Linked DNA regions of Homo sapiens: region 1 is linked to region 2. Evidence: promoter capture Hi-C in 16 types of primary human blood cells and fetal thymus (Javierre and others, 2016). All regions are on one chromosome and are shown on one strand. Each heading gives the region's core, a stretch centred on a gene start or on the middle of the fragment in contact. The rest is flanking DNA. Distances are from core to core; before and after follow the strand shown. Region 1 overlaps RAI1 (retinoic acid induced 1). Region 2 holds the start of SREBF1 (sterol regulatory element binding transcription factor 1).

Region 1 (3,675 bases), core at 312-2,811, 95 kb before region 2:
CCAAAGCAGATACTTCCTCAGAGCAGGTGAAAGGAAACTCAATCTTGTCTTTTGTTACTCAAGGAGGGAGTGAGGGAATGGCTTTGCCCTTGAACAGGGAGGCCGTGGGCGGGTGGGAGGGGTGGGTGAGGCAGTGTGGGGAGAGGGCAGGGGCACACATACCTGAGCCGAGACACCACCCCCGCCCGCCGTCAGAGCATCCGGAGTGTGGTGACCATGTTAGTATTCAGCACAAGCGCGCGCGCACACACACACACACACACACTCGCGCACGCACACACGCACGCTCACACTCACACACTTAAGCGCACACGTACACGCACGCCTTTCTTTCCGTCTCTCCCCACCACCCTCCTGAGTCCCCTCTAAACCAGGAAGGTAGCATCTGACCAGCAGAGAAAAAAAGAGAGAGAAAGGAAAAGAGAAAAAGAGAGATTAGTGGGAAGAAAATCCGATTCTGGAGTTACCTTAGTTACCAGCTCCTAATGACTCGCAGGGCGGGCTCGGCCACCTTCCTGAGCAGGGGGACCCTCCCTCCCGGGCCCCTCCATCACCCCATTAATAAGACGGGGCCCTTGTTCATGAGTTCTGCCACAGAAAGGGAAGAATCAAGGACTTTTCAATAAGAGAGAACTCCCTGGGTGGTTTTGAATAGTTGCTTTTTGTGTGGCAGTGCGGGACTCGTCCTCGGCTCTCTGCCCTGGCCGCCTCCCTCAGCTGGCTCTGTCTGGAACTGCCTGCTCCTGGGTCTCCAGATGGATGAGCTTGTTTCTCCGGGAGCTCAATCCTTTATTGTTCCTGCCTTTCCCCTCCTGACACCCTCAGCTTAGCAGAGGCCACAGGCAGCCTTTGCGTCTCAGGAAAGCAAGAGAATCCCCGAGGTGGTTCTAAAAAGGCTTAAAGCCCGGGAGTGGGGCTCAGCATGAAGGAAACAAAAGCACACTCCCCACATCCAGGGTGCTGGGCCTGTCGGCCAGGGCCAAGCTCACGGCCGTTGCTTCGGTGCCAGTGGAAGGGGAATGAATGGAGGAGAGACTGGGTGAGGGAGATGACGATAGAACAGGAGGGAGATGGGTAAATCCGTTTTATCAGACGCTGCATATCTTAGGAAAGCACATTTCAGCTCTTTTGGCTTTTGGCAAGCTGGTCCTACCCTTTAATTTTCTAATAAAAAGGAATTACGTTTGCTGAAAAGGCAGTAACCAGCTTCATGTCAGTGTCTCTTGTGGAGACCATAATTCCCGTCTTGGGTGCCTGCCGGCTCTGGGGTGGGAGGTGGGCTTCTGTGGCCACGGGTGATGATATTCAGGAGTCAAGGGGCAGGGACGTCAGGGCCCACAGCAGATGCCAGGCAGTGCCACATGGCTTTGCCCTGCTTGCCCCACCCTGGCCTGTCCACTCCCAGCCCAGCCTCTGATCATGGTTCCAGGCTCACCACAGACAGGGCTGGCAGAGGCTCCCAAGACTCACAATAGACACTTAATGAATATTTGTGGAATGAATGAAGGAATTCTTACTGCCGAGGCCTGAGGTAGCAGGCAAGTTGCTCAGAGGGTCAGATCTTGGTTTGAATGAATGAATGAATGAATGAATGAACGAGTGAATGAATGAATGAATAAAGGAATGAATGTTCTCCAGAGTCTGAAACTATCTATCTGGAAGGACTAACCTCCAACCAACCCCACTCTCCCTAAGCTCTGGCACTGAATTCACTGGAAACTTTGCCAAAAATAATATCCCCTCTGCTTTTAACAAATAATATGCACTCGTTTTAAAAGAGAGAGAGAGAGAGAAGTGTGTGAAGTCGCAAGTTCATGTCCATGCTGTCCCACACCTGAGTCCCCCAGAGCCAAGGGTGGGCACCCTTAGAAGGTCCTTTAGACCTTCCTCCAGGCTCTGGGAATCCCCTGCATTTCTTATCTGGTTTGGGGGTCCTTGCACACGCACTGTTCTACAACCCTATGGGGCCCCTCGGCCATCCCTGTCCCCAGTGAGATCTGGATGTGGTTCAGACCTCCCTGGGCTGCAGAGTGTCCCTTCCTGCTCTCCAACCTGGGAACAGGAGCCAGGTATTTATGTAAGTCTCTGTGGGGTGAATGTAGGAAAACATTTTTGCTATTACAACTCCCTTCATTCCAGTCCCTGATTTATTGATTTTTGAGACAGGGTCTCCCTCTGCAGCCCAGGCTGGAGTGCAGTGACATGATCACAGCTCACCATAGCCTCAACCTCCCAGGCTCAAACCATCCTTCCACCTTAGCCTCCCGAGTAGTTGGGACTTACAGTCACATGCCAACATACCCGGCTAATTTTTAATTTTTTGGTAGAGGTGGGATCTCACTATGTTGCCCAGGCTGGTCTCCAACTCCTGGGTTCATGTGATCCTCTTGCCTTGGCCTCCCAGAGTGCCTCCCAATGGGCTCACACCCCAGCCCCAGTTTTAAACAAGATCCTGAAGGCAGAACACTCACCATGGGTAGGCACTTGATAAATGGTAGCCTTTGTGATTTGGGAGGAATCTGTACCCAGTGCTATGCTTGGTTCCACATCCTAAGCATTGCTTGTGCCATACTATATGCCAGGCCCCCAGGGCGCAGGAACACACGGTTCCAGAGGGGTGTGGAGGCCCCTGAGTGGCAGCGTCCAGGAGCCCAGTCGCTGCCCCTGCCCGCAGCAGCCCATCACTGCTGGTATCCAGCCTCCTTCAGACTGGTGTATGCCACTGGAAACTCCAGGACATGTGCGCAGCAGACCCCACACACGTGGTTTCTCTGGGGCTGCCTCCTGACCCCAATGGGCAGGCACCAGGTCTCTGAAGCTCAGCTGGCAAATGTAGGAGCAGCCCAGGATTTGGCTGGTTGGGCACATGCACGGCTCCCGTCCTAGGACCTGACTTAATCTCAATCCTTAGAGGTGGCCTGGGAATCTGAATTGTTACTAGCCTCTTGGCTGCCATGGATCCCTTCCAGGATCAGGAACTGGCATGAGGCATAGGAGGGCCAAGGACATCTTTTAGGCTGCATGGAGCCCGGATCCACTCTGCAGCCCCTGGCTGGGCCGTAGGAGAGCGGGCAGGCTCAGGGCAGGGAGGGGAGCTAAAAGGGAATGGAGGGGAGACCAGCAGGAGCTCTGTCTGCCCGATTCTGGTTTGGGCTGTGAGACAGTCATTGCATTTTTTTGCACAGTTCTGGCCACACAGTATTTAAGAGGCTTTGCCTACAGACCTGAGTGACTGTGTGAATGGTGGCACTGGTGCATACGGGGACGCCTGAGGAGGAACAGATTTGGGACTTGTCCACCTAGGACTCCCTGTGGGATTGCCAGTATCACCCCTCTTCGTCATTAATTCCCAGCTTGCCTGGGGGAGGCCAGGGGGTAGCATGGGGTTCGGGTTCCCCTAGGGTTCAAACACCAGCCCATCTGCCCTGGGTGGCCCTTCCCTGCTAAGAGCCTCAGTCTGCTGTTCTGTAAAGTGGGTCCAGCCATTTCTGTACCCTCAGGGTGGCCATGAGGGTCAGTAGCCAGAAAGGCAAGGCCCCACACAGAACTGGTTCACAGAAATAGCAGGCAGTTTGTCAGGGGCAGCCTTGGCGTGGTTTTCATTCAAAATCATTTTTTAATTCCAAAAGAAAGGAAATGGTTGTAAATAAAGAAGGGAAGGCCGGGCACGGTGGG
Region 2 (3,516 bases), core at 468-2,967:
CCCTAGGGCTTGGGATTTCAGGGTTCATCACTCCAGAGGGCAGTGAAGGACAACCCCTCGTGCCAGGGATAGGGGAGGCTGTTTTGGAAAAGCCTCACAATCAGGGCCTCTCCTCTGGGGTCCTCCCCTAGCCCAGCCCCAGGGGGAAGGAGGGAGGGCTGGGAAGCTTCTGGGGCTGGCAACCAGCTGGGCTCATCTGCAAGGCTGCAGTAGGGCAGGAGTGGTGGTGGCATAGATATATCTGTTTTGCCAACCCCAGGGTGGCCACGGGTTCCATGGACATGTCCATTCAGGCTGTGAGTCTAGGCATCTTGTTCCTGCGACCTTGGCCTCAGTTTCCTCATCAACCAAGTGCAACTTAGCTAGTGCTGCTAAAACTCCTGCACAGAAACCATGCAGGCAATTTGCTAGGGGCTTCCGTTTGCTCTATCTACAAAATGGAAGCAACGGGCCTCCTAATTGGCACTTGGTGCCACCATTGGCCCCAAACCCCTTCTCATCACAGCCAGGGTGATGCTCCAAAGATGGAAGCCGGTGCCACTGTTCTGCTCCGCCCTTTCCCTGGCCGACCAAGTCGGTTTGCGTCCTCCTCCTCCCTGACCTCACTCCTTTGCAAGCCTCTAACTCCTCACACTTAGGCCCTGCCTCGAGGCCTTTGCCCTTCCCTTGCCGTGGCCTGGAAAACATCTTTCCTTGCTGGTCCTGGGGGTGACCCTCAGGTCTCAGCTTAGAAGTCCCTGACCGCTCTACCCAAAGTAGCCACATCCCTGCCCTCCCCCAGCCTCGCTCCACCCAAGGTACAACTAAATACCCGTTTGGTTTCCCGGGAGATTTTTGTGTTCCCTAAAAGAGGGGGTACCCAGGTCTGTCTGTAAACCCTCGGTGCCTAAGACGGGGCCTGGCATTCGGTGGATGTCAGTGAATGAGTGCGGAGGCTGTGCCCGTCGCAGACCGGGAGAACCCGACACGAGGCGGGGGAAGGGCGCGAGGCAGCGCCCATGCGCATGCGCAAGAGCTCCGACGCCGAGCTGAACTCTCGGGCCGGAGGGAATGACCGTGAGTAACCTCGCAATTACGTCACGGCTGGGGCTGGGGCGGAGCTTCGGCGACGCCTGGGTCCCCAGCTTCAGCCGTGGCCATCACAGGGCTGGAGAGTCACCGGTCGGGCGGCACCCGGCCTGGGACGCGTAGAGGCGCACGTGTCCCGGCCCGGAGCCGCCAAGGGACCCCGGCCCGGCCCAGGAGCCCTCACCCACAAGCGCGCGGCCCGAGACGCTAGCGCGGGAACCAGGGAGGCTCGGTGAGGCTCGGGACACCGAGCTCAGAGACACCGGGAAGTCCCGCGCGAGCACAGCACGGAGCTGGCGCCCGTGGGGGAGACAAAGGCCAGGGAGACACCTGCGCGCCCCCTACTCGCGCCACCCGGCGCAGCTTCAAGCCCTGCCCGCCCTGACGCACCTTCGATGTCGGTCAGCAGCGCCGCGTCCAGATCGCACGGCTCGCCCAGCGCCTGCTCCAAAGCCGCCTCGCTGAAGGGTGGCTCGTCCATGGCGCAGCCGCCTCCTCCGGGAGGCCCGCCGGGCCCGCCGCCTCGTACGGCCCTTCCTAGGGAGCGCCGCCGCGGCCCCGGCTCTCAGTCGCCGCCGCCGCTCCGCGCGTTCGTGTCCTGCCCTGGCCTCAGAGGCGGCCCGGCGCCGGCGAAAAGTTCCTCGGAAACTGGGTTCCCCCGGCCGCAGCTCTGCTGGGCGGTCGAGGCGGAGGCGGGGCCTTTCGGGGAGGACCCGCCCTCCCAGATAGACGGCCCCGCCCCACCTTGAGAGAGCGGGGGACCCCTGATCCCCGGTCTGCGCCACAAATCTCCCCTCAGCCGGCCCCTCCTCCAGAGCGCCCTCCAGTCATTCATTTTATCCAGCCTCGCGCACAATGGCAGCGGCCTCTGGCCGGCTGCTGCGGGAACGCGGGCAAGCCGAGCCCCCTCTCTGGGCCTCTGTTTCTCCAGCACCAAGCAAGGAAGCCGAGTGGAAGCCCCAGGCCTGGGCCCATCCCAAACTTCATTTCCTCATTTCCTAGATTTGACTCTTTAGAACAAGACAGACCAGGATCCAAGTTATAGGGGTCCCAGGCCTGCTGTGTTGTGAGCAGGCCTGATGTAACTGCTGGGCCAGTTACATCACTCTGCCTCAATTTTCCTCATTTGTAACATGGGCCTAATGATGCTTTCTCACGGGCAGGCTGGGAGGCTAGTGACAATGTGGAGGGGAGCATGACCTGTGAGATCAGCCTGCCCCCTCTCTGCAAAGAAACCAGAAGATTGGCCTCTTGAGGACAGGAGTGGCCAAAGAAAGAGGCTGGAATTTCGTCATCTGGTTTCCTCCCAGATCCAGCTGTAGGGATAGGATACCAGTGGGCCCAGTGCAGCTCCTGAAGGAGGAAGCCAGTACCCAAGGAAGACTGGCCCCAGGGCTGTCTGACCCCAGATTTGGCACTTATTCCCAGGAGCAGCCAGGATAGGGGCCGCAAGGAAGAGGTAGCTGTGCTTTAGATCAGAGCCAGGCTGCCCTGGATCATCACAAGCTGGGACTAGATCAGAGCAGGCAGCCCTGTTGAGAAGAGGGCTGGAAACCGAACCTGGTTCTGTGGCCTAGGGACAGAGCCAGGTGGGGCAGGAAGGAGGGAAGGGGTCCCAATGAGGTGGGTTGAAATAAACCAGAATTAACATTCAGGAATCTGAATGTGATAAGGCAGTGAGCTCCCTGTCCCCAGAGGTATGCAAGCAGAGAGAAGCACCCTTGGTGGAGGGCAGTCCAGGAAACTCATCAGGGGCCTGGGCCTCAGGCCTTCCCGACCCCAGACCTTCATAAGTCAAGCCATCCTGCAGACTGCCTTGCTCAAACTCCAGATATAGCCTATCTGGCCACGCCCTAAGCAGGAGTAACATTCATGATGCATTTTAGAAGGGGTGTGTGGGGGAGAGAAGCCACAGAGCCCAAGTCCCTGGGGCTCAGCCTGGACATCCAGCTCCCTTTGTTCCTCTCCCAGAAGTGGCTGCGGTGGAAAATTACCCAGAATAGCGGCGCCAGAAGTCATAGGGGTCGCCAAACCACATCTCCCCAAGTAGCCCTGCTCAAGGGTCCACCCAGGACCCACTCCCTCCAGATGAACAACTGCTGGAGAACACAGAGAACAAAGCTGGCTTCTCCTCAGTGCCCCACCCCCACCAACACTCTAGAGGCTGCAGGAAGCTGGTGACTTCCCTGAAAATTTAAACAGCCCTTCCCAGGGAGGGGGTGGGATAGGAAGTGCTGGGTGAAGCCTAAATACCATTTTCTTCAGAGCTAGGCAGGTGATCTGGGTTTTCACCTGCTTGCTGTGTGACCTGGATCCAATACCTCACTTCTGAGTCTCAGCTACTGTATCTATAAAATGGGAATAACCCTTTCTGCAGTCCCTCTGCAGAGGCAGGGAGGGTGTTTTGGAGTCATCATCACAACAGATCTGCCTCACTGTTTTTTGTTT

What was found. The method cuts DNA at HindIII sites, captures the fragments that hold promoters and counts their contacts. A CHiCAGO score of 5 or more calls a contact.
Region 1: a contact is called between a fragment that was not itself captured here and the fragment with the promoter of SREBF1 in region 2, in 1 of 17 cell types (naive CD8 T cells). The highest score is 5.1, in naive CD8 T cells.

What each region holds. Positions count from the first base shown.
Region 1 is chr17:17,740,848-17,744,522 of GRCh38, forward strand. All of the region lies in intron 2 of RAI1 (retinoic acid induced 1), which reads left to right. Among named protein-coding and RNA genes, the nearest start is that of RAI1-AS1, 24 kb to the right of the region's middle. RefSeq lists an enhancer at 2,214-2,715. The HindIII fragment of the contact is 5,638 bases long and covers 1-3,675 here.
Region 2 is chr17:17,835,269-17,838,784 of GRCh38, forward strand. SREBF1 (sterol regulatory element binding transcription factor 1) reads right to left here and starts at 1,718. Exons shown (of 19, transcript NM_004176.5): 1 at 1,459-1,718. The coding sequence starts at 1,549. RefSeq lists enhancers at 593-1,494, 1,495-2,397, 2,398-3,299 and silencers at 1,097-1,376, 1,567-1,726. The HindIII fragment of the contact is 13,614 bases long and covers 165-3,516 here.